Linked DNA regions of Homo sapiens: all the other regions are linked to region 1. Evidence: promoter capture Hi-C in 16 types of primary human blood cells and fetal thymus (Javierre and others, 2016). All regions are on one chromosome and are shown on one strand. Each heading gives the region's core, a stretch centred on a gene start or on the middle of the fragment in contact. The rest is flanking DNA. Distances are from core to core; before and after follow the strand shown. Region 1 holds the start of CPOX (coproporphyrinogen oxidase). Region 2 overlaps LOC105374007 (a long non-coding RNA gene). Region 3 overlaps ARL6 (ARF like GTPase 6). Region 4 overlaps LOC101929298 (a long non-coding RNA gene). Region 5 overlaps RIOX2 (ribosomal oxygenase 2). Region 6 overlaps GABRR3 (gamma-aminobutyric acid type A receptor subunit rho3). Region 7 has its middle 260 kb from the start of LINC00973.

Region 1 (4,425 bases), core at 1,142-3,641:
GGGCTTTAGGAAAAAGTTCGTAAGGATTCTGAGAAGCATGTGGAGTTTGAAAAATGATGTTTATGTACTAATACCTATAAGGCTAGGCAGAATCATCTTTGCAATAGGGTCACATAAAAAATAGTTGGAAAGCAATGCAAGAAACTAAGCTAAAAAACAGACAAGAACTTCTACTTTACACTTTACTTTCTACAACTTATTAGAAACTTTTTATTTGTCCCAACTAGTTTTCTGATGTAAGAAATTACTTAGATAGGTGATGTCTTTTTTTCTTCCCCCATACCGACAAATACAACTTAAATATAAGTATCCCACTTGGGAACAATTTGAACCTCCAGAAAGGTGATTTAAACTCACACTAACAAAGTTATTGAAGCCTTTCTTAAGCATTGAATAACAGTTTGCCAGTAGGGAGGGTGCTAGGAACCAGAGGAAGAAAGGAGTGAGGCCCTTCGTATAGAGAGGCTAAGGATGAGAGGGATGGAAACCTGGAATCTAGTATGCAATTTGCTCAGGATCAGCCTTTGTGACCGGGCAAATGTTCAAAACAGTCTGTTCTTACTTAGCTTTAACTAACTTTATGGGCTTTACTAACTTTATGGGTATTTTTAGCAGAATTAGAGCAATAATGAGGGGGTTTCTTACAAATAAACGTACCAGGGAGGTTCCTTTTCATTTGATGAGGTTCATTTATCATCACCAGGCCCAGCCCAACCCCATCACAGGCATCCAGTAGAGGCCATCAACCCTTCCTACAATGACAATTCTTATTTCCCTTCCTCCACTTCTAACTTGGCCTCCTGGCAGGTTGCACTATGACCAAAAGCTAATTGTTTTTCTTCCCTAAAAGTCGCTTAGTCACTTCTCAATCCAAGCCTTTACTTTTCACAGATTCTCAGTGGTGAGGCTTCGGCAAGCACACCCACCTTGCTAACATCATGTCCCAGTGAGAGCTGCCAGGTACAGTTGTGTGTGGACAAGATGCCAATTGATCTGACTCAAAAGCCATTGAAGTTCCATCAGTGCATCCTGCCACAAAGAAAACACTTGTGGGAAAAGCTACCAGTGGCTTAAATTATTATCTACTACTAGAAATTAAAATCATCCCGGAGACTTATGGGACAAATTAGCCCATGACAATAGTTCTCACACTTTTACGTCCAGGAACCATGGAGCTGTGGTATGGTTACAGGGGAGACAAAGACCTGCCTGTCAAATCTATTAGCTTCTTTCCTCATTTCTTTAAAGGGTGGGGGAAGGGAGACAGAGTAGGAGGAAGTGTGGATATTTGCCTTGCCTAGTTTGTAGCAGTTGTTGTAAGTATTAAACGTGAGCAATATTTGGGAGCACCCTACAGTAGTAGAATAACTATTTTTTAAATTCTTATTTGTTAATCACCAAAACACACCAAGTCAGGAATTTTCTACTGGTTAACCAAAACAGTCACGTTGCTTTTCCTTTTTCTAAAATAATCAAGTAGGCACTATAGAAGCAAGGCCTGGGGAAACCTTTTTTTTTTTTTTTTTTTTCTGAGACAGAGTCTCACTCTGTCACCCAGGCTGGAGTGCAGTGGTGCGATCTCGGCTCACTACAACCTCTGCCTCCCGGGTTCAAGCGATTCTCCTGCCTCAGCCTCCCGAGTAGCTGAGCCTACAGGTGCACGCCGCCACGCCCGGCTATTTTTTTGTAGTTTTAGTAGAGACAGGGTTTCACCATGTTGGCTGGTCTCGAACTCCTGACCTCATGTGATCCAACCGCCTCGGCTTTCCAAAATGCTAGCATTACAGGCTTGAGCCACCGCGCCCGGCCCCAGCCTGGGGAAATCTTAAGGACAGAACTGTGATGTGGACTCGATCACAGAAAGTCTTCTCCTCGACTCTCTTCCGAGTCCATTACTAGCTTCTCCCACTCTCTTTAGAAAACCATCCTTCAGCAAAGAGTTTCCCAGCCTGCCCATCCCCTCTAAAAACTCTAGAGGACCAGGACCCAGGGCGAAGGGCGGGTCTATACAGATCCTGAGCCAGGCTCTGTATTCGCAAATCCTGTTTGAAAATGTAAGCGGGACTGGGATCTCTGCCACATTTCCGCCCCAGTCCGCCCTCAGCCTCCCAGCCCTACTCTATCTTCTCTCCTTGGCTGAGTAAACAGCCGACCCGAGGTTGTACGTGACAAGAAAGCCTCTTTTATCTCTCCCGTCCCTTCCACAGCACCGTCCCCGCCCCACTCTCTTCCCTTCGGACCAGCCCTTCTGGGCGCGTCGGATTCTTATCTCCCGCCCCGCGCAGGGACGCCGCAGGCGGCGATAGGATCCGGACTACAGCTCCCAGCGCGCCCCAGTTCCCGCCCCCGCCTCCGGAGCCCGACGCTGCAGCGGCTCTTCTCGAAAGGTTCTTTCCGCCTGTGCAGCTCGCCGGCTCAATACTCCGGGGGTCTGGGTGGGGGGCTCAAACGCAGGGCTCTGGGACGCAGGCACTGCTCCAGGTGATAGTGCGGGAACATGGCCTTGCAGCTGGGCAGGCTGAGCTCGGGCCCCTGCTGGCTCGTGGCGCGGGGCGGCTGCGGAGGGCCCCGCGCCTGGTCCCAGTGCGGCGGCGGAGGGCTCCGAGCCTGGTCCCAGCGCAGCGCAGCCGGACGCGTCTGCCGGCCCCCTGGCCCGGCTGGCACGGAGCAGAGCCGCGGGCTGGGGCACGGCTCGACGTCGAGAGGCGGCCCCTGGGTGGGGACAGGGCTGGCCGCGGCGCTGGCGGGGTTGGTGGGGCTGGCCACCGCCGCCTTCGGGCATGTGCAGCGGGCGGAGATGTTGCCTAAGACCTCGGGGACGCGGGCCACTTCGCTGGGGAGGCCGGAGGAGGAGGAGGATGAGCTGGCCCACCGCTGCAGCAGCTTCATGGCCCCGCCTGTGACCGACCTGGGCGAGCTGCGAAGGAGGCCGGGCGACATGAAGACCAAGATGGAGCTGCTGATTCTGGAGACCCAGGCCCAGGTGTGCCAGGCTCTGGCACAGGTAGACGGGGGCGCCAACTTTTCTGTGGACCGGTGGGAGAGGAAGGAAGGTAAGGAGGCCGGCCCCTGGCGGGAGTTGGAGACAGGGAAAAAGGGTCAGGTTCCAGGTTGCAGACAGAAAATATAATAGTTCACAATATGGGATGGGGTAGGTAGGGGGTACCCACAGAGAGGCCGCTTGGTTAGAGGCCGCTGATAAAAAGATGGACACGAAAGGGTCACTAGCCCTCTGCTTGCAGGTATGGACCCGGATCAGCTGTCACTGTAGTACTGCATTTCAAAATCTTTGCAATTCCGTAGCAGCATTTTTTTGTAGAACTCTTAAGGGGTATTTGCAGCTAACAAGCTTAGATGTCCAAAGTTCGTTACTGAACATAAATTTCAATAGATTATGGAACACATTTTCTCTCCTTCTCTGGGTGAATTTGCCCTTTTTCCTCTTTAGGAGATGGAAAGAACTCATCTCCTGTGCGCTAAGTGTCGGCTAAACTCCTCCAGCCAGGATGTCATTGTGTCAGAATCTTCCCACTTCTTTTTACTGTTACACAAGATATATTTGATTCGTTTCTCAGTAGCACTACCAAATGCACGCATCAGATTTCCTGCTAGGAAAATCTTCTCTTCCAATATCAAAATACTTGAGCATCAAAACCCAGTTCTCGTAGAGGCGTACATTCATGACCATGTTGTTGCCCATACAGTGAAACCCCACATCTTGAGTGGAAACTTGAAAGATTCCTGACTTTTCCTAGCTGGAAATACAACAGCAGCTTCTCACCGGCAGATTTTGAGCTGTGATACTGACACATCTATATTAAATGAAGTTCAGTCTAGTTTTCCATCTTATGTTTTCAAGCAAAGACCACTGAACCAGGACACAACCTCAAGTACTAGACCAGCTGTGTGATCCTCAGAAGTTACTTTTTTATGGCTGTTTTCCCATCTATGAAATATATATGTATTTCATCTCTTTTAATCCTCATACTACATATATATATATATATATCCATATACATATATATATATATATATGGATGGAATATATGTGAAGTGCTTAGAATATTGTCTGAAGCATAGACAGCATTTAGACAAATTGTTGCAGCCACTTGTCAGCAGTTTGATCTTGGATAAGATGTTTTGCCCCTCTGGTCCTCAGTTTTCTCATTTGGAATATATGAGGGTTGTACTGGATCATCTTATGTCCCATCCAGCTCTAAATGTTCTTAGAAATAAAACAAGCCAAACATGAACTTTCATGAAACATTGCCCTTGCAGTGACCCTAATACCTTAAGAAAAAAAATTAGTAAGGCTGATACACGTGAATACTAATGTGCGTCTCACTCACTCTAAGGTTCTGAATCCCTTCAGAATTTGATTACCTACTGTTTCTTAATTGCTTGTAAATTAAAAGGCAAGCAGCC
Region 2 (4,425 bases), core at 1,007-3,506, 920 kb before region 1:
GCTGGAGTGCAGTGGCTCTATCTCGGCTCACTGTAACCTCTGCTTCCTGGATTCAAGTGATTTTCCTGCCTCAACCTCCCGAGTAGCTGGGATTACAGGCACCCACCACCATACCTGGCTAATTTTTTGTATTTTTAGTAGAGACAGGGTTTCAGCATGTTGGCCCAGGTTGGTCTCCAACTCCTGACCTCAAGTGATCCCTCCGCCTTGGCCTCCCAAAGCGCAGGGATTACAGGAGTGAGCCACTGTGCCCGACCTCATTCACTCTTAAATGATCTTTTCCTTTAGGCCTCCTCTCATTAAGACTAAGCCAAGGCATGGTGGCTCATATCTGTAATCCAAGCACTTTGGGAGGCTGAAGCAGGTGGATCACTTAAGGTCAGGAGTTGGAGACCAGCCTGGCCAACATGGTGAAACCCTGTCTCTATCAAAAAATACAAAAATTAGCTAGACATAGTGGCGTGCACCAGTAGCCCCAGCTACTTGGGGAGGCTGAGGTGAGAGGATTGCTTGAACCTGGGGGCAGAGGTTGCAGTGAGTTGAGATCCTGCCACTGCACTCCAGCCTGGGCAACAGAATGAGACCCTGTCTTTAAAAAAAAAAAAAAAAAAAAAGATTAAGCCAAGAAGGTTTTTGCCTTGGAAATGAGTCTCAAAGATGAGTTTTTGAGTCCACGGTATTAGAATGGTTTTGATACCTAGTTTTTTTTTTTTGAGAAAGAAAAGAATTTATTAAATGTCTAACTCTCTCCCACAGTAAATATCAAAAACCAATCCTGGCATACTTCCTTCAGAGAGTTTTGTTGTAAGCCATTGTATGGAAATATTGGAGTCTGTTTTAAGGAAAGTTCTCATCAAGGTACTTCAGTTTTTGTTTTTACTTGTTTTGTTTTCCCATAAAGAGAAAAAGGTAAGAGGAAGAGAAACAAGAAATCAGATGTTATTGTCCTACTTTTCCTCTCTTGGCCAAAACCCTAAGGAGTGGGAGTGAAAGGCAGAAATACCCAGATAGTTTTGGGAAACTCCCAGCATAGGGAGGCTTGCTCCTCACTTCTCAAACAGGGAACACTGAAGTCAGCCCTTTATAGAATTTGTTTCTTTCCATATGTATTGGAGTCTTATGATGGCAGCCAGGTTAGATAGGCCACACGTGATGTGCTGGTAACCTGTTGTCTGAGTGTGGCCTTTAGGGATTCTAAATATTTCTGTATCCCTTGGCAAGTAGACACCTAAGCACTAAAAACAGGACAAGGAAGTGGCAGAAGGTGTTAAACTGATCTATGCCAGGCACTGGTTTCATTTCAACAGATACCAAGGAAGGATTCCTAAGGGCAAGACCAGATCTACTGCTATATGGTAGACAGGGAAGAAAACAGCCATGGAGGATATGCAGAGTCTCCCCACTATGTAGATGCCATCTTTCGAAGATGGAGCAGAAGGGAGAAACTCCTAAATAAGTGAGACACAGTTGACTGAATTAACTCAAAGGAAGTAATTCTAATTTGAAAAAGAAGGGTTTTGTTTTCCCTCCTGCCTAAAAAGATGTTCTAGAAAAAAAGTTATAGACAATGGCAAAAAAGTGTAGGATATTTCCGAATTGTCATATATACTACAAGTTTCAGTCCTGCTACATTTCAGTCCTACTACAAGTACTTAAAGTATCTAGTACCATCCAAAAGTGAACACTGACATTTGTTGACACTTAAAGTATATACTATTTTAGTCAGAGATTGCATGGTAAGATATTCTCTTTTATATAAAAAAGAAGCCATTGATTCCAGAAGCTTAATAATTTCTGAATTTCTTCATGAATAGGTGGTAGGGTGGAAAAATTTAAACCCTTTAAGAGAAATCCAACTGGCCATGATGAGCATTTGCCAAAGAACTTGGAAGCTCCATGAGAGGTTACTGAGCATCCTGTGGAAGGCGCAGGATGCAGAGGTAGAAAATGCTTATTGCCAAAGGTAGGGCCTGGAGGCAGAGCCAGGGCCCCAGCTGCATTTACTTTTGTGCCTGCTATTTGGCTTGGCAGAAGCAGCCTCTTTTCCGGGAGGGAAATGATTTTTACATCGGTCCGTAGACTTAGAGGATATAAACTCAAAAGAAAGGAGGATTGAGTTGTTCTGACTAACTAGGTTTGGTTCATTTCCTTGGGACCTCCCCAAACACATTGATATTTCTGTAAGAATTAAATGAAGGCAGTGATGGAAAGAAGACATTTTAATTGCTGCCTGAATTTCCAGTTAGTGTAATATCTGCTTGTTAATGTTTCTGAAATGGTTCTGTGTAGGAAAATCCCAGAGAAGTCATCTAATCCATCTTCCTGGTGGTGCAGGATCACTACCTACTATTTATCAAAGATAAGGTAGTTACATCTGACCCAAAAGAGATACTTTGGAGGAAGCATCACTGTTGAACAGGCCTGTTCTATAATTAAGGGTATATGCCAAGGAGCTCATAGTCAGGGAGATAGTAAAAGAACACACATTTACAATGTAACAAGTATTTTGGTAGTTGATCATTCATGTGTCACACTGTTGTTAAACACCGTCCTTGTGCCAGGTTCTGGGCTAGGTGCTGGGAACATCAAAGAGATTGTTTTCTAACTGGAGTGGTAAGTTTAAATGTTAAATACCATGAAAAAAGTTCTAATGGAAGAGCTAACAGAGCCCTCAAGTAGCATGAAGAGTGATGATTGGGGATCTGGGTTGGGGAATCAGAGAAAGCTTCATGGAGAAGGTGATATTTGTGAGAAATTTTTATAGATTGCCACATGAAATCACCTCTGTAATACAACAGGTGCATTGATGAATATGCCAGTTTGGGGTTGTTCTTAAAAAACAAGTGAGGCTGGGTGCGGTGGCTTGCTCCTATAATCCTAACAGTTTGAGAGGCCAAGGAGGGAGGATCGCTTGAGGTCAGGAGTTCAAGACTAGCCTGGGCAACATAGTAAGACCTTGTCTTTACAAAAATTCAGAAAAAAAAAATAGCTGGCTGGCTGCATTGGCATGCACCTGTAGTCCCATCTACTTGGGAGTCTGAGGTAAGAAGAGTACTAGCGCCTGGAAGGTCAAGGCTGCAGTGAGCCTGAATGACAGAGTGAGACCCTGTCTCCAAAAACAACAACAAGAACAACAAACAAAACAAAAAAACAAAAAACAAGAGAATAAAAGTGAATTGATCAACAGGAGGAATTATCTTTAGAATGCTTTTTAAAGTTAATCTGAAATGAAAAGATTAAGCCATTTTTCATAGCTTGGTTTATTTTGATTATTGCTAAGGTATAACCAGCTCTATCATGTTGCATTGTGCTTGATGACTTGGGGAATGATCATTATGACGGTCAGAATCTGCTGGAGCAAAGGTATGAAGGGAAGTGAAGTTTGTCAGAGATATTTTCTATTTACTTCATCTTCTCACGCCCTTTATCTCTTAGACCCTTCTCTTCTTTCCCTTGACAATTGTCACGTATAACTGGGGTTCACCCATTCTTCTCTCTCTTTGCTGGTTAGGAAAGAAATTGATAATCAAATTGACATTTAGCTTTTAGAACTTAATGATTTAACCCATACTTTAGGAACTTTGATTTTCTTTTTTTTTTTTATTATAGTTTAAGTTTTAGGGTACATGTGCACAACGTGCAGGTTAGTTACATATGTATACATGTGCCATGCTGGTGTGCTGCACCCATTAACTCGTCATTTAACATTAGGTATATCTCCTAATGCTATCTCTTTGATTTTCAAAGAAATTTATAGGAGGAAGACAATGCTTAGCTTAAAAAGAATGATAATGACAAAATGTCTGATATGAAGACATTTAGATGGTAGGGAATATACTTTTACCAAGTGTCCTTCCAAATCCCTGGAGGAAATGCTTCCCCCTTTGCTTAGGTGACTACCTTGACTTACAGCCCTCCCTGAATATTCCCCAGAAGGATTTTTAGATTTAGTTAAGCTATAATGACAGAGCCCATAAGACTGTTAACTTCTAGTGTAGTTATGATATATTTGCACTTTGTAAACTCATGAATGAATTCCATGACTGAAGGCTTACTTATGTATGTGCAAGATCTACATTTTTATTCCCAGTGTAGACTTGAGTGGTGAGGCTAAAGAAAAAGGAATTGGCAGAAAAAAGTATGTGCATGTGTTTACATATAGCCCTATACACATGTTTGTGTATGTATTTATGTGTGTGTATGTGTGTATGTATACGTGCATGATATATCACACAGCATATCATTGCACTACATGATGTTGATTGTGGCACCAAGAATCACAAGGTCTGGGAAATTTTAATTGAGTTCTTTTTGTGTCTGGCACTCTCATTTTCTACCCGCAGGGCATGTGAACTTTTCAGCTTAAGAATTGATTGCTTATTTTTAGCTGTTTAACCAGTTGGGCTCTATCAGTCCAGAGCAATC
Region 3 (4,425 bases), core at 967-3,466, 810 kb after region 1:
CAATTTTCATCATTATGAAAAACTTTAAGGCAAATATCCTCCTACATACCTTTCTTTTAAAAAAGTTCTGATGCTTTAAGATTTATTAGAAATGTTAGGAGTAACATTTCTAAGACTACATACATAATTTAAAGTTTTAGAAAAACATTTCCAAACTGTCCTCCAGAAATGCCATATCAATTTACATGACTCAGTACTTTTCTCACTCCTTTGCCAGCACTGGCTATTATCATTATCATCATTCTTTTCAATAATTGCCATTCTAACAGCATATTATCTTGATCTAGTTCATTAATTGCCAATGAGGTTCAATATCTTTTCATATATTTATTGGACATCTGTACTTTTTTTTGCGAATCACTTAATCATAAATTAAGTATTTAAACTGCAATGTGATTAATAATCAAATGATATACAAAATAAAACTTTTTATATACCATTTTCTCCTATCATTAAAAAAGGATAATGCTGATTATCACAGACATACATTACCAGTACATATAGAAACCAGAACAATCAAAGTACCTATCAAGATCTATAAAAACGTTCAATCACTTTGAGCCAGTGATTTTATTTCTGAAATTCATTCTAAGGAATCACGAACTGGGGCTAAGATTTATACAAGATTTTGACTGAAGGACTGTTTACAATTTTCAAAAACAGAATAGCCTTCATGTCCTAGAGTAGAGAAATGGTTAAAGAAATTTTGGCAAAGCTGTGTGAAAAAATATTAGGCAGCTGTTAGTTATATTCATTGCATGTTTTTCCTGATTTACCCTTACCACATGTTAACTGAAAAAAGCAAGATACAAAATTATACATGGTACATAATTTAGATGGTTCCTTTTTCCTTAGTTATATAAAGTATATGTTATATATTTCAAAAGGAGGAGAAAGATACCAAAAAGATTGACAATGGTGAATTTATGAATAGTGAGATTTATGGGAAACATGTTTTCAATATTCTCTTCTATATTTTCCAAATTTAAAAAATGTGTACTCCTTATATTTTTGCATGCTATTACCTTTTTATATTGTAAAAATAGTATGTAAAAATTATATAATATTTAACATTATGGCATCATATAGATGAGAAAGTAAATGTCTCTCTTCACCAAACAGGATGTGAAAAAAAAAAGAAAAGAAAAATAAAAGAAAGTAAACTTCCCTTATAATCCTACTATTCCAAAAATAAATGCTACTAATGGTTTGGTGCATAATCCACTAAGAACTTTCTTCTTTCTATACATAGTAAGTACATATTTATAGCAAATGTAAATTTCCTTGATTTTTTTTTTTTACTACTATGGTTATATATATAGCAAAGATAAATATTTATAGTAACATTTTTACATAATTGATATAAAAATGTTATAAATAATGCTAACATACAACCTTCTATGTATATTTTTTTGCCCATAAGCCCTGGTCATAGAATACTTTTCTAAAAGTAAAAATGCTTGCTGGAGTTTATAAACATTTTTCATTTTAACAGATATCAATAAATTACCCTGAAAAAGATATTACATTCTCACAGGAGTGGCTCACTTTGACAAGAGCATACTTTATTAATCTTTGTAACCTTTTTCAGTCTAATAGATCAAAATGTACTTGTTTTGTTTCACAGTTAGAAAAGTACGAAAATAGGGAAAGTAAATTTACTTTTATTGTTGATTTTTCAATAGTAATCATATTCTCCATTCAATCTACAATGTAACCACTCTATTCTAGAATTCATAAATTTCATCCAAAAACAGTACAAAGAAAAAAGGAGTTAAAATCAAATAAAAACAAAGTTTACTTTCCTACTATTTTCTCTCTATATATATTTTTGTAATTAAAATTAAAGTATTTTTAAAGTAGCTAAATACATTTTTAAAAGGAATTATTTATCAACTAATTGGAGGAGGAATTTAAAAAATCCTGTACTGAAAACTCAGGTTTCCTAAACACACAAACAAATAAGAAACACATAAAATGCATCTCCCCAAGGAATTTAATGCAGAATACCACAAACATGCCACTTTTCCTTTTCCAAACTAACCCTCGAATCTGAAGCACTCTCTTTTCCCTCTCTCTCAGAAGTCTTCTGGACCTACGATTTAAATAGGCCTTCAATTTATTGAAGGACTCATTGAAAAAAAAATTTGAATAAATTTCCTCTGGTTCATATCCCAAATATATACCATTTAATGTTTGGTCTCACATTATTAGGAAAGAGTTAATCTAAATCTAAATCTTATCTGGTAAATATCACATACCATTTCAAGGCAGCAGTTCATAATGACAAAAGAGAGTTTAGTTAAGAGATAGTGTTTTTAAGTTTCAGACTCTAAAAGTGAAATACATTGCTCTTAAATGAAGTCCTAACAATATTAGAAGCTAATGAATTTATTTTATTACCATATGCAAATCTCCAGAAGGTATAACACATTTGGGTCCTAGTAACTTGACAGCTATTAGTCTGAAGTATAGTCATCCCTCCGAATTGGCGAGGGATTGGTTCCAGGATCCCCTTCAAATACCAAAATCTGCAGATGCTCAAGTCTCTTATATAAAATGGCTTAGTATTTGCTTATAACATATGCAAATTCTTCCATATTCTTTAAATCACCCTAGATTACTTATAATACGTAATACAATGCCTACATATGACCTCATTTATATGCTTTCAATACAGTAGTTTGTGCACGGCAATTTAAGTTTTGCTTTTTGGAACTTTATGGCATTTTTCTCCCCAAATATTTTTGATCTACAATTGGTTTAATCCAGGAATGCAGAACCCAAGGACATGAAGGACCAAGTGTAAATTAGTGAGCACTTGACTTGCATATGCTGAAAAATGGCTTGTTTCAAATTATTCATAGAACAATGGATCAACTGTTAGGCAACACTGTTATTTTTAACTAAATTTAGTCAATAATATTTACTGGCCTATATGCTGAGCATCATACTAGGTCTTGAAAAAATAATATGAATAATAAATAATCCCTTCCCTTGAGGAGTTCACACTTCCACTAGGGAGGCGGCTATGGTGCATAACTTCAAGACATGGTAAGTATGATTAGAGAGATAGAAATGGACAAAGTGCCAGGTGAACAATAAGGACAAAATAACTGGGCAGAACAGTGAAACTTCAGAGGAAAGGACTTTTAGCTGAGTTTTAAAGCAGGAATATGTTAACCTTAAACTGAAGTGAAGTAGGATAGAATGGGGCATTAAAAACAGAGAGAATAGTACATGCAAAGGCCCGAAGTCATGAAGGACCTGAAACATTTGACAAACAATGTTGAGTCTCATTACATATTTTTTAAAATAGGAAATGTTCATAAATTACATGAAAAAAAAAAGCCAAACAACCTAGCCATATAATTCTTTGGATTTCTAATCATTATTATTAGTAAAAACCATCTAGTTAAGCAACATTCACAGATGTACTTACTTATAATAGTGTTCCCAGAGATTTCTGTATCTTCCTTGACCTGACATGTCAAACACTGTAAATGACAAACTACAAAAAGAAGCAAAACATGACTACATTATAAACTAAAGCATAACTTTTACTTAAAATTTTAAATTATTTACAATCAAAGAAATTACCCTTCATATGCAATATTCAACATGTGCCAATTTACAAGTAAAAGTTCTATGAAATAAATGTATTAATATAAACACAATTTTGCAATAAATAACATAAAAAACTTCTTTGCTAGTGAAGTTATCAGAGTTTGTCTAAACTCTAAATTCTGAAAAATAAACCAGCCATAGTGGTTAGAAACACTTTAATACCTATGAGATTCTGAAACAACAAATTACTTTATCTAAGGGTAGGAAGAATGACCAGGTAGACCTAATATTGTTATTTTTCACTAGCAACTTTTTTGTTAAGGGATAAAGTGGATTACCTGGATGATTTGAATTTCTCTATGCTGAATCCTATTGTTGGAAGGATATTTTGAGATTGAGCCTTTAAGAGAAAAGACAAAGTTCAGAAATTTACAATTACCAGAGATGAGTTTTCCTCAAGTTAAAGTATCCAGATTTTCAGTTTCTAAAATCTGTCACTAAGGAGATGATAGGATTTAACAAAGTTATATAATTTTTTCAATAGGATCACTCTGTGTGAATTCTTTATAGAAGTTTAAGGTTTACTAATTATGAATCTGCATAATATTAATTCACATTTGTGGCTTGTGGCATGCTACCAAGGACATAAGCGTTTGTTTTATAAGTGGTTTAATAAGTGTTTTTTTTTTTTTTGAGATAGAGTCTCACTCTGTCACCCAGGCTGGAGAGCAGTGGCGCAATCTCGGCTCACTGCAAGCTCCACCTCCCGGCTTCACACCATTCTCCTGCCTCAGCCTCCCGAGTAGCTGGGACTACAGGCGCCCGCCACCACGCCTGGCTAATTTTTTGTATTTTTAG
Region 4 (4,425 bases), core at 495-2,994, 790 kb after region 1:
TCTTAGCTGTACTTGTTACATAACTCAAAAATACAAATATCTACAAATTGAATTATAAAAATGTTTCTACTGCAGGGAAGTTTAAATTTTTCCCGATCTGTTCACAGATTAACAGGAAAAAAGGCATACAAATTTATTTTGTGCAGTCATGTTCACAGGAGTCACACAAAATATAAAAACTCAAAGAAATGGCCATATGGAGTTTTTATACTATCCTGACGCTACAGAAAGAATAGCTAGAAGCTTCACCCAGAAGAGTTTATGGTGGCAAGACAGGTTATGGGAGCGGGGAAGAGGAGGCTTGGCTAGCAAAGGTCATCTGGTTATATAGATGAAACCTCACAGACAGCAGAATCTCAGTTAAAGGTGTCAGACTCTCAGTTAATCTTTCCTTGATCCAGACATGGGAGGGCCTCAGAGAAAGCCTGGCTGCATCAGTGCAGATTTTCTCTACAGTAGAAAATCGTTCCCACAAAAGACAGCTTTGTAGGGCTACTTGTGTTTGCAGGCCCTCTGCATAGCTTTCTCAAAATACACCAAATAAGTATATTTTGGCGTGAAATATTTTTGTTTCCATCACTATATTCTAACATATACATTTCAAGACTATCAACAGTAGCTATCATTTACCTCAAAATATTGGTAAAAATCATCAGGGAATCTGAAAGTCCAAACCAGATGCTTGGGGACAATTTGTATGTGTGATTATACTTTTAAAAGTTAACATATTTGATGCTTCATAATCTGCCTTATCTCTTGCCACCCATTTAAAGAAAAGGAAGAATAAAAACCAGAAGGCCAAGACTTCATACTTTTCATTCTTAATGGGAAATTAAAGGAATTTCAAAGAGCATTGCTTTTCAGCCATTTGCACCTAATTTTTCATTTTTAATACAATTATTTAAGAAGGAAGTAATTTCAAATTGTTCTATTGCAATTTAGAATGTTTAGCTTTGCTGCGAAGCTATGTAAAAGGTAAGAACACAGATTCCAGAGCCAGATCTTGTAGACTCAAAATCTGGTTTCTTCCATGTATTTGCAATATGCTATCTCTTGCCTCACTTTATCATCTGTTACACGGGTCAACAAACTTTTTATGTAGAAGGCATCAGACAGTATACATTTTAGGCTTTACAGGCCACATATAGTCTCTGTTGCTTTTTTTTTTTTTTTTTTTTTTTGAGACAGAGTGTCACTCTGTTGCCCAGGCTGGAGTGCAGTAGTGCAATCTTGGCTCACTGCAACCTCCACCTCTTGGGTTCAAGTGATTCTCATGCCTCAGCCTCCTGAGTAGCTGGGACCACAGGCACATGCCACCACACCTGGCTAATTTTTGTATTTTTAGTAGAGACGAGGTTTCCCCACATTGGCCAGGCTGGTCGCGAACACCTGTCCTCAAGTAATCCACCTGCTTTGGCCTCCCAACGGCCGATTACCTGCTGGGATTACAGGGATGAGCCACCATGCCTGGCCTAACAACTCTTTAAAAATGTAAAATACTTCAAACTATACTACAAGGCTATAGTAGCCAAAACAGCATGGTACTGGCACCAAAACAGAGATATAGACCAATGGAACAGAACAGAGCCCTCAGAAATAATACCACACATCTACAACCATCTGATCTTTGACAAACCTGACAAAAACAAGAAATAGGGAAAGGATTCCCTATTTAATAAATGGTGCTAGGAAAACTGGCTAGCCATATGTAGAAAGCTGAAACTGGATCCCTTCCTTACACCTTATACAAAAATTAATTCAAGATGGATTAAAGACTTAAATGTTAGACCTAAAACCATAAAAACCCTACAAGAAAACCTAGGCAATACCATTCAGGACATAGGCATGGGCAAGGACTTCATGTCTAAAACCCCAAAAGTAATGGCAACAAAAGCCAAAATTGACAAATGGGATCTAATTAATCTAAAGGGCTTCTGCACAGCAAAAGAAACTACCATCAGAGTGAACAAGCAACCTACAGAATGGGAGAAAATTTTTGCAATCTACTCATCTGACAAAGGGCTAATAGCCAGAATCTACAAAGAACTCAAACAAATTTACAAGAAAAAAACAAACAACCCCATCACAAAGTGGGCGAAGGACATTAACAGACACTTCTCAAAAGAAGATATTTATGCAGCCAACAGACACATGAAAAAATGGTCATCATCACTGGTCATCAGAGAAATGCAAATCAAAACTACAATGAGATAACCATCTCACATCAGTTAGAATGGTGATCATTAAAAAGTCAGGAAACAACAGGTGCTGGAGAGGATGTGGAGAAATAGGAACACTTTTACACTGTTGGTGGGACTGTAAACTAGTTCAACCATTGTGGAAGTCAGTGTGGCGATTCCTCAAGGATCTAGAACTAGAAATACCATTTGACCCAGCAATCCCATTACTGGGTATATACCCAAAGGATTATAAATCATGCTGCTATAAAGACGCACACGTATGTTTATTGTGGCACTATTCACAATAGCAAAGACCTGGAACCAACCCAAATGTCCATCAATGATAGACTGGATTAAGAAAATGTGGCACATATACACCATGGAATACTATGCAGCCATAAAAAAGGATGAGTTCATGTCCTTTGTAGGGACATGGATGAAACTGGAAACCATCATTCTCAGCAAACTATCGCATGGACAAAAAACCAAACACCACATGTTCTCACTCATAGGTGGGAATTGAACAATGAGAACACTTGGACACAGGAAGGGGAACATCACACACCGGGGCCTGTCGTGGGGTGGGGGGAGGGTGGAGGGATAGCTTTAGGAGATATACGTAATGTAAATGATGAGTTAATGGGTGCAGCACACCAACGTGGCGCATGTATACATATGTAACAAACCTGCACGTTGTGCACATGTACCCTAGAACTTAAAAGTATAATAATTTAAAAAAAGTAAAATAAACATTAAAGGCAGTACAAAAATGAGTTAGCAGTTTACTGACACTTGATCTATATAATAGAGATAATACCTCACAGGGTTCTTATGACAATTAAATGAATATATGTAAAGTGCTTACAAAGTATGGGCACATTGTAAAAGCTATGTTTATCATTACTACTATATTTCTAATCAAATTTTATTTTCAAAATATCTAGTATTCCTGGGTGACTTTTAGCATTACTTGGTGATTTGAAATTTGGAGACAGATTTTATCTTTCTTGGTTTATTCTAAATTGCCAGAAAAGCAGTTTAACATGGTATGCCGATGAAGCTTCTAAATCTGGCATTGAAATCAAGTGATTGGAAGAAAGAGCCATAAAGGTTCTGAGGCAGGCGAAGCTGAGCAGGAGCATCCATACGGAGAAAGATGAAAATGTAATAACTAAGTAACCTGAAACATTCAATTAAACACAATAACCATTTCTTAATCACTGTAGTATTTCTCTCTAGTCGCAGACGTACACAAACCTATTTATTTAGGTGACCTTGTAATACCAGTCATTTATTTTCATGAACAAAGGAAATAATCAGAAAGCAGAAAATAGGTACAAACTCAGTTACAATGCAATAGTATTTTAATGCACATGCACCAGAGTTATAAGCAAGATGAATTTGCCTTAAGTATTGCAACTGACTGAATGTTTGTGTTCTCCCAAAATTTCTATGTTGAAATTCTAACCCCCTATGTGATGACATGTGATGATATTAGGAGGTGGGGTCTTTGGGAGGAGCCATGTGAAGATGTAATGGGATTCATGCTCTTATCAAACAGACTCCAGAGAGTTCTCTTGTCCTCTTTTGGCCATGTGAGGATACAAGAAGATGGCAGTCTGCAACCAAGACGGCTCTCACCAGAACCCAACCATGCTGGTAATCTGATCTCAGACTTCCAGCTCCAGAGCTGTAAGAAATAAATTTCTGTCGTTTATAAGCCACCCAGTCTATGGTACTTTGTTATAGCAACCTGAAATGAATAAGACAAGTATTATCAAGAGTAACTGCACATATTTATGGAAATCACAACATGATATAAAAAAATTACAAAGAAAAAATATCTTAAGGAGACAATTTGTAACTTTTTCGCAGAGAGCTTAGAAATAAAAAACAAACATATAAAACCCAGCTCTTTTGTGATTTATAAAGCACAGGCTGAATAGGGCCATATACAAATATTTAAATATTTAACATACAAGAGGATAAGTTTCAAACATTTTTACAAGGTGTTATATTCAAATACAGAGCTTAATGAATTAAACTCTGTAACACACTGATGTCTAGACATGAAAGAAAACTTGCTTCAGGTTTAATAAAATACATTTTAATTGTATAATATGCTAAATACAAATGCAATAATCTCAGCTTATTCACACTTATATGACATCCTGTGACTACACTGTTGCCCAACTTCTACATAATCTTTACATGAAAATGTGGAGTAGGGATGGATGTTTATAGA
Region 5 (4,425 bases), core at 776-3,275, 630 kb after region 1:
TGAGATCTATAGAGAAGCCCAGTGGTCTGTATAAAGAGGTCCTTGGCTAAATCCATGGCTCACATCTGTAATCCCAGCACTTTGGGAGGTCAGAGCAGGAGGATAGCTTGAATCCAAGAGTTTGACAACAGCCTGGGCAACAAAGTGAGACCACCATCTCTACAAAATAAGAGAAAAAAATTAGCCGGGCATGGTAGCATGCACCTGCAGTCCCAGCTACTTGGGAGGTTGAGATGGGAGGATCATTTAAGCCTGGGATGTCGAGGCTGCAGTGAACTGTGATTGTGATCACACCACTGCACTTCAGCCTGGGTGACAGAGCAAGACCATGTCTTAAAAAAGTCTTTTTTCATATTGACCCAGTTCTTCCCAGTTCTTTCTCACTTGATATTTTTAATACAGTGGATTCTTTTTCACTCCTGTGGTAGAAGGGACTCCCAAGCTGTGGCCATTGGTTTGCTCAGCAAGTATTTAAATATGTTGTCATGCAGTCTGTGTGCCAGGCACTGTACATTCATATGTTTAAAACTTCAGTCTCTTTAGTGCCCTTTGTGATTTGTCTTTTCTTAAATTCTCTGAAAGGTATGGACTTTGGAGCCATGCTGCCTGAATTTGAATCCTGGCTCCATCATTTACTAGTTGCATGGTCTCATGCCTCAGTTTCCTCATCTGTAAACTGAAGATAATGTTAGTACCCTCTTTATGAGGCAGGGTTATTGTGAGGGTTGCATAATTGATATTTGTAAAGCACTTGGAGACAGTGCCTGGCACATAGGAAGTGCTAATATCTACATGGCCTAATTGCCCCCCTCCTCTCTTCTCACCAGCCTTGGTAAAATCAGACTTCCTTCTCTCTCCTGGGAATATATGGCCCATCGCTAGGCCCCTAAGTCTGATGTCTGCTCTGAAGAGTTGATAGTGGAGAGAAGGAACATTACCCAGCCTGTTATTTCTTCTCTGTCTGTACCTTCTTCCCGTGTTATCATTTCTGTTCCCATTGCTTTAAATATCCATTTTGTGTAGGCAATTCCCAAGTGTAAATCTTCAGTCCTTAGTTTCTGCCAGAACTTCAGACCGACTTAAAGACATCTCCATGTGGGGGGGGGGGGGGGGGTCTTAGCATTCCAAACTTAACATTCCTAATATAAAACTCTTTTTTTTGTCCTGAAAACTTGTTTTTTAGTAAGTTTTTCCCATCTCGTTACGTGGAAAGGGGAACTGATTGCCCAAGTCAAAAACCCAAGAGTATTTTTTTTAACTCCGCTCCTTTACATTGAGTCTGTCGGCAAGTCCTGTCTGTGCTGCTTCTAGAGTGCATCCCACTCTTCTACCTCCCTCCTTGCCTTTCTTACCACCCCAGTCACTTCTCGCTTGAGCTGCTGCCTGAGAAGCTTCCTCACTAGTCTCTCTGACTTCCACTCTTTTCTACAGTGCATTCTTCACACAATAACCAGGGTGAGCTTTCAAAAATGTAAATTGGATTGTGTCCTTCCCTGCTTAAAAGCCTTCCGGACTCCCAATTGCCCACCTTGTCAGTCATCCCTTTATCTGTTCACGTCTGTTACATGGTGTTTCTGCACTGGAATGGAAGATTTTTGAGACCATGGGTATTGGCTGTATCATTGCATAATTCCCAGTATCTGGTGTATAATAGTTGTGCAGTAAAGACTTCCTAAGTGAACAAGAACATGCTCTTATTCTTATTTCTAATACATTTTTCACTCCCCCACGCCGACCCTTTCTTTTTTCCTTTTTTGTAAAGGATGAGCTTTGGAGGATCCAGGAGAAGCTGGAATGTTACTTTGGCTCCTTGGTTGGCTCGAATGTGTACATAACTCCCGCAGGATCTCAGGGCCTGCCGCCCCATTATGATGATGTCGAGGTAAGAGATGGAGAAAATTGCCCCATGTTGGGAAGAATGAGTTGTTGAGAGCCTGGTTTAGTAGAGTTGTCAGGGTGAGTTCACATTATTCTCTAAGGCTCTTAGGTCTGTATTCGCTCTTTCTGTGCAGTTTCTGAGATATTGATTTCATCAAAATGTTGGGCCAAAGTAAATCCCACTAAACTGGTTTCCTGCTCTGTCTCAAAGGAACAGCTTGTTTCCAACCTTACTAATTTAAAGAGCCACACATTCGTCTGAAACAAGTATTTATTGAATTTATCTACAGAAAGGTGTGCTTGGCTTTTCCTTTAATTTCACAAAGTATGGTCTTTAATAAGATGAGGTCACAAATAATCCTTCATGTGCTTTCATTTTGTTCTTTTTCAGTAGCTGCCAAAAATATGTATATATTTTCCATTTGTGAAAATCTTGGGGCAGCTTGAATGAGGGTCATGGTTTCACTTAAGCATTGGCATCTTGACAAGTGTTGATTTCACTCTGATATGGCTTCCAAAAAAATTTAACTCTTTGGCTTATGTATTCCATAGTTTTATTTTTGTCCTAATATAAGGTGTAAACACAGAGTTATTGGTAAAAAGTCCCCTTTTTCTCCTTTGATAGCAATTTGACATCAATACATTTTCACAAAATGTTATTTTTAATATTTTTAATAGAATATCTTTGACTGAATAAAGAATAAAAAACTCGAAGTTTTCCTATCTCCCCAGGCCCTTTCAACATTCAGGATTTAGACATTCAGTAATATCTGAAGCTTGGCTTTTCCATCAGAGATTATGGGCTTTTAGCTGTCTGATAGAAGATTTAAAGGAATGAGATAGTGGGATATAAAGAACTCAGCGAGGCTCTAAGAAAGTGAAAAGAATGAATATCCAGTGTCAGGATTCACGATTCCGTTTTTAAAAATAAAACCCAGTAGTGGCAACTTTTGTTTAACTGTGGAATGACATGCATTTCTCATCTTTCATTTTTATTTTTTATCGGAAACTTGACCCTTGTGCAGTGTGGGGGTTAGTGGTGCCAACACCTCATGCAGTCAAAAATCTGCTTGTAACTTTTGACTTCCCTAAAACTTAACTACTAGTAGCCTTCCATTGCCTAGATATCTTACTGATAGCATAAATTGGTTAACACTTATTTTGTATGTTATATGTGTTATATACTTTATTCTTCAGTAAAGGAACCTGGAGAAAAGTTATTAAAATTATAAGAAAGGGAAAAGTATTTTTAATATTGTGTTTATCAGTACCGTAAGTTTACATCATTTGTTTACAAGCTGAATCGTCCATCTGAAATGGTGGGTAGCCACAGCTGCAGGCCTTAATCTACAATACACATCAAGCAATTCAACTTTTTCTTGTAACGTTACGACTTTTTTCTGTTTCTCGGGAGTACTTGCAGTAGCAGTAGTGGCACATCATATGGGTCCCATGGTGTTATTCACGGCTTAAGTTGTTGCACTAAACATGATGAAAAATACACAAGAACTGTTGAGAGATCATTTTTTACTGTGATACACAATTCACTGGAGAGAGGAACTGCTCATGTGGAGATAATTAGCATCACACTTGAGCTCGTGGCAATAGCAACAGGAGGTAGCACAAAATTATTACAGTAGTACAATATGTACTAAAGTTAATTTTATTCAGCTATTCCATATTGCATCTTTAAGTTTGTTTACATTTCTTGACTGCAAATGGTGGTCTAGAAGTATTTGTATAGGTAAGTTTTGATAAATTTTAACCTTCTGTAATAGATTTGTGAATATTTTATGGTAGTAGATGATAGACTAGTATCTACATATGTTTTTATATTTGATGCATTTATGACATTCTTAATTCTTTTGATATTTTTCATGTTTTTCAAATTGTTGCAAATCTCCTCCAAATTTTCCAATATAATTTATTGAAAAAAATCAGCATATAAGCGGACCTGCACGGTTCATCCCCATGCTGTTAGGCCAGGCGTGGTGGCTCACGCCTGTAATCACTTTTGGAGGCCCAGGTGAGAGGAGTGCTTAAAGCCAGGAGTTCAAGACCATTCTGGGCAACAAAGTGACACCCCATCTCTACAAAGAAGATAAATTAGCTGGGAGCTGTGGTGCATGCCAGCTTCCCAACTACACAGGAAGCTAGGGCAAGAGGATCATTGGAGCCCAGGAGTTTGAGAGGCTGCAGTGAGCTGTAATTGTGACACTGCACTCCAGCCTGGCCAGGAGAATGAGACTGTCTATAACAACTAAAAAAAAAAAAAAAAAAAAAAAACCTGTGTTGTTCAAGGTTCACCTATATATTTGTCTATTAGCCCCTTAGAGGGCTAATAGTCCGGAAGCACTTTGTGTGTGAGTTGTCAGGAAGCTCTCTGATGCTCCTGGGCCTTGTGGGTCTCTAGGTTTTCATCCTGCAGCTGGAGGGAGAGAAACACTGGCGCCTCTACCACCCCACTGTGCCCCTGGCACGAGAGTACAGCGTGGAGGCCGAGGAAAGGATCGGCAGGCCGGTGCATGAGTTTATGCTGAAGGTATG
Region 6 (4,425 bases), core at 1,100-3,599, 590 kb after region 1:
ATTTTTGATAGAAGATCTTAAAAGCTGACTGCAGTTTTTGCAAATGTGTCTAAAATGCTGGGAATCTCACCAGATGTCTACTCCACAGATGCTCCGCCCTAACTCCATTAGAAATTTTCCATACCACTATTTGACTTTAGAAAATTTCTTGTAAGATTGGCCCATTTTGGAATTTCATCCAAGGAAACTAAAAACAAATGGGGACTAACAGCCTGGAGTCAGGCCTGTGACAGTGAGGGGATGCTATGGTGTCACTCTGAGGCCTGGCTTAACACTCTAAGAGAATGTACACAAATATGGGAGCAGCTATCTGGGGAGTTTCAATTCATTGTGTGGGCACAAGATCCATACTATACTAGTCATCAGGGTCTAACTTTTAGAGATTCTTTTTCCTCCTCCTAAAAGTGTGTGTATGATCAGTCCATTGGCAAACATATTTTTATCACCTAATATGTACATGTCATTGGAGTAGGCACTAAGGATACAGAGCCACATAAGACATGGTTATAGAACTCATTGAGCTTACAAGAGCTTATTACACTTACAAGACTGATATTTTCATGTTTTAGATGCCTACAATGAGGATGACCTAATGCTATACTGGAAACACGGAAACAAGTCCTTAAATACTGAAGAACATATGTCCCTTTCTCAGTTCTTCATTGAAGACTTCAGTGCATCTAGTGGATTAGCTTTCTATAGCAGCACAGGTACAGCATTTTACATGGGTGATTCATCAGCATTTATTGGACATCTACTGTTTGCAAAGCACCACAACATGCGAAAAGACCGGAATCCAAGCGAGTGTCCCCTTTGGCCAGCACCATCATTCCTCTCCTTTTACAGGGAGCAAGCTCCACCCTTCCATACATCGTTTCTTTCCCACTCATGCAGCCACCTCTAACTAGATGCCTTGCTTCCATTCTTGACTTCTCCAGTCTCAATACAGCAGACAGAGTAATCTCTTTGGAACATAAAGTTCACAATTCTTTCCTGTTCTAAACTTTCCAGTGTCTTTCCATCACATTTACAACAAATTGAAGTTTCTCAACGTGATCAGTCTCCTGCCTAATGTGGGACTCACCCACTTCCTCTGCCCCTCACCACCTGCTACTCTCCCGACACTGGCGTTTTTGCTTGCCTGCCTCATTCCATCTACAGGGCCTCTGCTTGGCCTTGTCCTCCCTCTGCCTGGGGTGCTTTCCCCCAATATTCTCATGCCCTTCTCCCTCATTTCAGTCAGAGCTTTGTTCAAATAGCTTCTCAAACAGTGCTTTCCTAACCAAACCAACCCCGTGTAAAACAGGCTTCCTTTCTCACCGTTCCCTATCTCGGTCATCACAGCACTTACCATCACCTGAACTATGCGTTTATTTGACTGCTTTGTTGTGTGAGTGCCTCACCAGGAAAAGGGTGGGGAATCTGTCTGCCTTGCTCACCATTTCTTCTGCAGCACCTGGAATGTTCTTGGCACGTGACAGATGCTCAATAAAAATCAGCTGAATGAATCCATCCATAAAGTGCATCATTGCCCCAAACAGAAAACCTATCCAAAATTGGGCCTATATAGTACTCTTTACTATGACAGATATATTTCTGAATTGACAACTTTTATCCAAGACACCTTTTAAAGTTATATGTGATCCCCATTGACTAAAGTTGGAAGCAGCCTCCTTCGGTTCCCCTCTGCCCTCCTCACCCTCCACTATCATTCCCCTTCTGGATATTAATATTCTGGGTTATTTTAGGCCGAATCCATATAAAATGCCACTTCAGATTCAATGCAGCCATGCTTAGGCCAGCCAGAAAGTGTGCCAACAGCTGTCCCTGAGTTTCAGAGCTGTCCTGGCTAGAATGCTTTACCTACTCTGCCTTGATAGTGGTGTCTCTTCTCCTCAAAGATTCTCCACTCTGTTCTCAGATCTTGGAGAGTAGTTATCAAGTTTGTATCTAAAACCTGCAGCTTTAAGAGAGAAGTAGAAGTTGACATTGCAGAGAAGTTAAATGATTCTCTAGGAACAACAGCTATTTATCTATTTAGACCCAGAAGAAATTCTCTATTTCACTCCATTATTTGTCTACATTGCTTGGGATTCAGCAAATGATGCTCTCAATTTTAATCATGTTTATTGCCTTTTCTGATTATGTAAGTAGCACATATTTATTTGTTTTGATCACTGATATATCCCTGGCTCATAGTAGATGCTCAAAGGCTAATTATTGAATGAATGAATAAATGTTAGATAATTTGAAGAGACCTCAGAAAAATTTAAAGGAAAATCTCTTTGTAATCCTACCTCATAGAGATAAACTATATTATTATTTTGATATATTTTTCTGCTCCTCCTTCTTCTCCTCCTTTTCTCGGTTTGTCTTTCTCTATATGAATAAATATAGGCATATATTTATCAGGATTTTTAATGTTCTTACTTAATCCTAAATTAAATTAATATTTAAATAAAAGAATGTATGCAATGAAGCATGGTATATGTGAAGTATAATTTATAGGATGTGTTTTCATTTTACTATTGCTAAAATGAAAAATAACTTTGGCATATGATAAATTGTAAATAGATATTTGCAACATTTAATGCTAATATAATGTAATATATATGAAGCATAGAAATCAAAAAGAATTGTCTCATGCACAGAACATATGCAAAATATACAATAATTATGGCATTTCTTTAGCTTTTGAAGCACAACTATCCATTAACATATATCCAACCGTCCTCCTAACAGGAAGTTAAATTTCACTTCAAAATTCTAACTTTACCACTAAATCATTCCATTTGCTCTACCATAATTTTATTTGTGCTTGTCAGACTTTTTGAGCCCTACCAGGCAGCTACAACACTAGCTGATTTATATCTTTTTCTGGTCATGTTTTAGAATCTCTCTAAAGCCAGGAAAATACTGGCATGGAAAAACTTACTGCTTACAAAGATGCTTGCATTTTAAAATGAACTTACAAATCTTTAACGTTCAAAGGTAGTTACATTTTTAAGAAATATCATTTTGGTTCCTAAGAAAAATGAAAAAAAATTAGAATTAGGTTCAAATGTACATGCTTTGTGTAACATGAGAAGGAGACTTATCCATAATACATTAATATTCTTTAAAAGCAAGTTACGGAAGAATATATTTTAAAAATCCCATATTTGTTATTGAAGAATGTATGTATACATATTTATGAGTGCATGAGTGCTTATATACATATCTGTGCATATCGTGTGTGTGTGTGTGTGTGTGTGTGTGTGTGTTAAAAGCCTAGAAAGATTAACAATAGATACCTCTGAGAAGTAGGTACAAAAAACACTTGTATTTTTTAATTTGTTACAATATACCCATTTTTTTTAATGACAGAGATTGGTAGGAAAAATGCCGAAGGGAGGCATTTTGGAAGTTGTATTCAAATATCAAATCAATAATCATATCTGGGTTCATTTAACCATCCCTTAGTTAGGTTTCGGAAAGATTACATTTAGAAACTTATTTTAGTTCATGAGCATGTGATAGCTCTGCCTCACATTATCCACGAATCATTAAACATAATCTTCTGACAAACTCAAGTGTCTTTTTCAGACTAGTTTCCTGTTTAAATATTTTAGCTTCCTCAAAAATAATTTTTGATTTGTTTTCTTCACTCCTATCCTTACAACTACCAGCCACAACCACCACTCCCAGGTGTATAGAAAAACTATACATCTGACTCTGGCTATAAGAGTCAGAAATATAGTTATAGGACCTTAGTTTCCATTTTACAGCTGAACAACAGGGTGTTTTTTTTTTTTTCTTGGCCTTCACCACTACCGTTGCCACTGTTCAAAAATCACCACGACCTGGCAATATTAACAAGCAGATGAGGGCTTCTGCCTCCTGATCCCTTTCTCAAAATTCTCAAAATCATGCACTATAAATTTACAAAGAAAAAAGAAATGACTCCTGCCCCTAAGGGATGCATTGAATAATTATTCTTTATCATAGCATAATCTAATGGCTGAATGTGTAAGTAGTAGAAACAGACTGCCTAAGTTCAAACCCTGTCTCTATCATTTATTAGCAACCTGACCTTGGACAAGTTGCTTAATCTCTCTAACCCTTAACTTTCTCATCTTTAAATGGGTTTCATAATACTCTCTATATCATAGGGTTGTGAGGATACATGATGTCATATAGTTAAGTACCTTAGAATGTTATCTGCCATATAATAGAGGCTCAATAAATATTAGTTAGTAGCTGTCATCATCACCCTATTTTCATCCACATTATTTTGATCCTTTTCATAGAGAGTATTAAGGCCTACTTTCAAAGGGCCATTGAAGGTGACTGTCTCTAGGTATAAAAACCTTCTTTATTCTTGTCTTGGGACTGACTCCCCAAATACTGGCCCAGTCCTCCATTTCCCTGGGTGCCAACTCTCTA
Region 7 (4,425 bases), core at 979-3,478, 580 kb before region 1:
ACTGTTTACAATAGATAAGACTTAAGGGTGTTTCTTTCAATTCCTAGTTTTTTAAGATTTTTGAAAATAATGAATTATTAAATTTTTCCAATATTACTGCATATATTGAAATTATCTACAACTTTTCTTCAGTCTGTTAATGTGATGGATCACGTAAATATTTCTGATGTTATGCTATCCTTAAATTCCTGGCATAAACCCAAATTAGTCAAAATTTATAAATGTACTTTTAAGCACCATAAAATTGTTTTCTTTCAGATGTAAAATCATCTTGGACAACAATTTTTCTTTGATATTTTCCTAATTCATTATGTTAAAGTATCTGCATTTAAATCTTCATGTTCCTTTTACAAGTGTCTTTTATAAAGTGTAGCTATTACAGCTTTATCCAATCCTATAATCTATATATTTTACTGGTTGTACTGAATCAAAGAAATTTTATTGTGATTACTAATACATTTAGATTTATTTCTGCAATCTTATAATGAAACATATTTTACTTACCTCTTTTCCTGACTTCTTGTTGTATTGATAAGGTAGTTTTCTTTTTTCTTCTCCTGAATTAGAAGGGATAGCATTTATTTCCATGAATTTAGTGCTCTCCTTTGAAGTTTTAAAACCTAATTAGCTTTATATTTTTCTGAAAAAGTAAAAAAATTAGTTAACATTTTGGTTCTTTTCCTAAACAAGAATGATAACTTGCTGTTTATCTCCAAAAACTATGTGAAACTTTTATTACACTTTTCTAAATACATTTTTAGTTTAATATTTTTAAGTATCTTTGCTTCCTATTCCTTCTCGGAACTCACTTTTTCCTCAGGGTTAATATTTTATCTTACTGAAAGTCCTTTTTAAGGGCAATCTTTAAGAAAGACATTTAGAAAACTATTTTTTAATTATTTAGTGGGTTTATTTTTTATACATAAAACAATATGAACTCAATTTCATATGTGTGTTATAGCTATTCTCAGCATAGTGACACAGTAGAGAATATTTGATAGATTTATTACTGAAGATAATCACAAAGGTTATGGAGGAAACATAAACAGAGGATGACTGCATTTAATGTGATACTGAACTAGTAATCTGTAATTTACCTTTAAACTAAGAATATTTGATTCTATAAATAGGCAAAAGCCAAGATTCTCAAGCTAATATGTAAACACTAAAAGATCAAATACAAAGACATTAAGTGTTTACATAAAAATAATAAGTTAAACTCTGTCAGGTCGCACTATAAAAAGTTTAACAACTCAGTCAAGTTATAACAACTTAAAAGTGTGTTTATATAACAAGTAAATCATTTCTTATGACTTGGTTTATAGTGAACACATATAAAATGCTTCCAAATTATTTGGAACATTAGGTAATATTGCACAATTTTTGCTAAGGTTCAAACTGTTTATTCTACTGAATGCATATTATGCCATGAGGTAAGAGAGATGAGAAGTATCAGTGTGAGTAGTAAGTAGTTTGAACTTAGGAGGCACACTAATCAGAGTATAAATCGTGATCCCACTTTTTGCCGTCATCTGTGAGACCTTTGGAAAAACACTTTACCTGCTGATGCCCTGGTTTCCCTATCTATAAAATGGAAGTTAACAACACAACACTTTCATAAAAGGTTATGGTGAGGATTAATAGAAATACTGCTGACAGAGCACTTATCAAATAGCTGAGCATATTATAAGACCTTAATAAAAGATAATTTATTATTAACGTTAGAAAAAAGCTTAAATTATTAATATTATAAACATTGTGAACTTTTCCTATTATAGTCTTTCCAGCAAAAGCCAATAACTGGTAGGAAAGGTATCCATATAAAAATTAGAGTCTATCTGGGGAGATAAAACATTTCAGAGTTTTACTCTATTAGGTGCATTCTGAGTAAGCTGATTAATAGGGGGAAATAGTATTATGGTATCTAGGAAATGTCTGCATTATCAATTTGCAATTGGGGTTATGTTGATACGCATATGATAGAATAAATTTTTCTAATCACTTTCAATTCACATTTGATATAGTAAAAAATTATATTCAAGTCAGATTCTGTTTTACATGTCAATTATAAATAAGCACAGGTTGATCCTCTACTATTATTTGTAATGTTTTTACTTGCAGCCTCTGATTATTCATCAACATAAGCCTATGTTGTTTAAAAACAATTTTTAAAAATTGTAGTTGTCAAAGATCAAACATACATTTCTCATAAAAACTCCTAGTTTTTAATATGAAAGAAATATGTTACATTTGCTCTAAACTAGCCATGCACATGCATTCTCCTAGAGTTTTGCATATTATTATGTCTATATAGAATCTCCAGTGGTCGTTAATGTCCTTCCTAGGGTTATATGGCATTTAATCAGTGTACCCACCTGGCAGGACTGTGGTTGATGTTCCACAGCAAGGAAGGAAACGAGCCCATTAATGAAATTTATAGCACTTTATTACATCATTTCTGGTGGAGAGGGGAATTAGAAGTCACTTCTGTTATGGTTTAATTTCTTGTGAAATTCCAGATGAATTCATTGTCATAAATATTCAGGTTCATGACAGAGAAAATGAACAAGCTGCTTGGGCTTTGTCCTCATTTGCTGTCGTAATTGCTACAATTGACTACGATGAGGCAGTTTTACTTCCCATGTAACTGAGCCATTCACTTTGATTTCCAACTTCTTACTTATAAATTGCATAATTTAATAATCATTAAATAATTGAAGCTTTCAGCAATCTAACCAAATATACATTGTTCCTTTTATTTTTTATTTTTATTTTTTAACTTTTAGGTTCAGGGTTACATGTGCAGGTTTGTTGTACAGGTAAACTACATGTCACGGAGGTTTGTTGTACAGGTAACTTTGTTACCCAGGAAATAAGCACAATACCTGGTATTATACTTATTAGGTATTTTTTCCTATCCTCTCCTTTTTCCCACCCCCTACCTTCAAGTAAGTTCCAGTGTCTGTTGATCCTCTCCTAGTATCCATGTGTCATTATTGTTTAGCTCCCACTTGTAAATCTGAACATGCAGTATTTGATTTTCTGTTCCTGTGTTAATTTGATTAGTATAATGGCCTTTAGCTCCATCCATGCTGCTGCAAAGGACATGATTGTATTCTTTTTATGGCTGCATAGTATTCTATGATGTATATGTATCACACTTTCTTCATCCATTCTACCATTGATGGGCATTTAGGTTGATTCCATGTCTTTGCTATTGTGAAAATTGCTACATGGAACATACAAGTGCATGTGTCTTTACGGTAGAATGATTTATATTCCTTTGGATATATACCCACTAATGAGATTGCTAGGTCTAATGGTAGTTCTGTTTTAAGTTCTTTGAGAAATTTCACTCACAGATGGGAATTGAACAATGAGAACACATGGACACAAGAAAGGGAACATCACACACCGGTGTCTGTTGTGGGGGGAGAGGGGAGGGATAGCATTAGGAGATATACCTAATGCTAAATGACGAGTTAATGGGTGCAGCACACCAACATGGCACATGTATACATATGTAACAAACCTGCACATTGTGCACATGTACCCTAAAACTTAAGTATAATAATAATAAAATAAAATAAATCTCCAAACTGCTCTCTACGGGGGCTAAACTAATTTACACTCCCACCAGCAGTGTATAAACATTCTCTTTTCTCCAAAACCTCACCAGCACCTGTTATTTTTTTAGTTTTTAATCATAGTCATTCTGACTGGTGTGAGATGGTATCTCACTGTAGTTTTGATTTGCATTTCTCTAATGATTTGTGATTGAATTTTTTTTTTCTTTTAGAATGTTTAATGTAGGCCCCCAATCTCTTCTGGCTTATAGGGTTTCTGTTGAAAGTACTGCTGTTACCCTGATGGGGTTCCCTTTGCAGGTGACCTACCTCTTTTCTCAAGCTGACTTTACCATTTTTTTCTTTCATTTTGACCTTGATGAATCAGATAATTATGTATCTTGGGGATAGTATTTTTGTGTAATATCTCACAGAAGTTCTCTGCACTTCCTCAATTTGAATGTTGTTCTCTTCGGGAAAGTTTGAGAAGTTTTCATAGATGATATCCTGAAATATTTTCTCCAAGTAGCTTGCTTTTTCCCTGTTTCTTTCAGGGACACCAACAAGTCATACATTTGGCCTCTTTACATATTCCCATATTTCTTGTGGGTTTTATTCGTTCTTTTTTATTTCTCTCTGACTGATTTATTTCAGACAGCCAGTCTCTGAGCTCTGAGATTCTTTCCTCAGCTTGGTCTATTCTGCTGTTAATACTTGCTATTGCATTATGCAATTTTTGTAGTGTGTTTTCCAGCTCTATTAGATCAGTTTGGTTGTTTTTTATAATGGCTATTTCATTTATCAGCTCTTGTATCATTTTATTGTAATTCTCAGCTTCCTTGGAATGGGTTTCAACATT

The links. The method cuts DNA at HindIII sites, captures the fragments that hold promoters and counts their contacts. A CHiCAGO score of 5 or more calls a contact.
Region 2: a fragment that was not itself captured here is called in contact with the fragment with the promoter of CPOX in region 1 in 1 of 17 cell types (M1 macrophages); the score reaches 6.8 in M1 macrophages.
Region 3: a fragment that was not itself captured here is called in contact with the fragment with the promoter of CPOX in region 1 in 3 of 17 cell types (naive CD8 T cells, total CD4 T cells and total CD8 T cells); the score reaches 8.1 in naive CD8 T cells.
Region 4: a fragment that was not itself captured here is called in contact with the fragment with the promoter of CPOX in region 1 in 2 of 17 cell types (total CD4 T cells and total CD8 T cells); the score reaches 5.6 in total CD4 T cells.
Region 5: a fragment that was not itself captured here is called in contact with the fragment with the promoter of CPOX in region 1 in 1 of 17 cell types (total CD8 T cells); the score reaches 5.2 in total CD8 T cells.
Region 6: a fragment that was not itself captured here is called in contact with the fragment with the promoter of CPOX in region 1 in 1 of 17 cell types (non-activated CD4 T cells); the score reaches 5.0 in non-activated CD4 T cells.
Region 7: a contact is called between a fragment that was not itself captured here and the fragment with the promoter of CPOX in region 1, in 1 of 17 cell types (fetal thymus). The highest score is 5.6, in fetal thymus.

Annotation. Positions count from the first base shown.
Region 1 is chr3:98,591,577-98,596,001 of GRCh38, reverse strand. CPOX (coproporphyrinogen oxidase) reads left to right here and starts at 2,391. Exons shown (of 7, transcript NM_000097.7): 1 at 2,391-3,053. The coding sequence starts at 2,498. RefSeq lists an enhancer at 1,853-1,902 and a silencer at 2,403-2,852. The HindIII fragment of the contact is 5,536 bases long and covers 1-3,351 here.
Region 2 is chr3:99,513,710-99,518,134 of GRCh38, reverse strand. All of the region lies in intron 1 of LOC105374007 (a long non-coding RNA gene), which reads left to right. It overlaps LOC105374005 (a long non-coding RNA gene), which reads left to right. Exons shown (of 5, transcript XR_007095985.1): 2 at 757-858; 3 at 3,281-3,363. Among named protein-coding and RNA genes, the nearest start is that of COL8A1, 120 kb to the left of the region's middle. The HindIII fragment of the contact is 942 bases long and covers 1,786-2,727 here.
Region 3 is chr3:97,779,701-97,784,125 of GRCh38, reverse strand. ARL6 (ARF like GTPase 6) reads right to left here. Exons shown (of 8, transcript NM_001278293.3): 3 at 3,906-3,967; 4 at 3,443-3,511. Among named protein-coding and RNA genes, the nearest start is that of ARL6, 17 kb to the right of the region's middle. The HindIII fragment of the contact is 6,022 bases long and covers 1-4,425 here.
Region 4 is chr3:97,800,211-97,804,635 of GRCh38, reverse strand. It overlaps LOC101929298 (a long non-coding RNA gene), which reads left to right. Exons shown (of 3, transcript XR_427389.3): 3 at 3,742-3,904. ARL6 (ARF like GTPase 6) reads right to left here. Exons shown (of 8, transcript NM_001278293.3): 8 at 3,407-4,425. Among named protein-coding and RNA genes, the nearest start is that of CRYBG3, 20 kb to the left of the region's middle. The HindIII fragment of the contact is 2,997 bases long and covers 246-3,242 here.
Region 5 is chr3:97,959,046-97,963,470 of GRCh38, reverse strand. RIOX2 (ribosomal oxygenase 2) reads left to right here. Exons shown (of 10, transcript NM_153182.4): 3 at 1,763-1,882; 4 at 4,292-4,420. Among named protein-coding and RNA genes, the nearest start is that of RIOX2, 11 kb to the left of the region's middle. The HindIII fragment of the contact is 1,263 bases long and covers 1,394-2,656 here.
Region 6 is chr3:98,004,049-98,008,473 of GRCh38, reverse strand. It overlaps GABRR3 (gamma-aminobutyric acid type A receptor subunit rho3), which reads left to right. Exons shown (of 10, transcript NM_001105580.3): 7 at 570-710. Among named protein-coding and RNA genes, the nearest start is that of GABRR3, 29 kb to the left of the region's middle. The HindIII fragment of the contact is 5,970 bases long and covers 1-4,425 here.
Region 7 is chr3:99,173,593-99,178,017 of GRCh38, reverse strand. No RefSeq gene overlaps it. Among named protein-coding and RNA genes, the nearest start is that of LINC00973, 260 kb to the right of the region's middle. The HindIII fragment of the contact is 988 bases long and covers 1,735-2,722 here.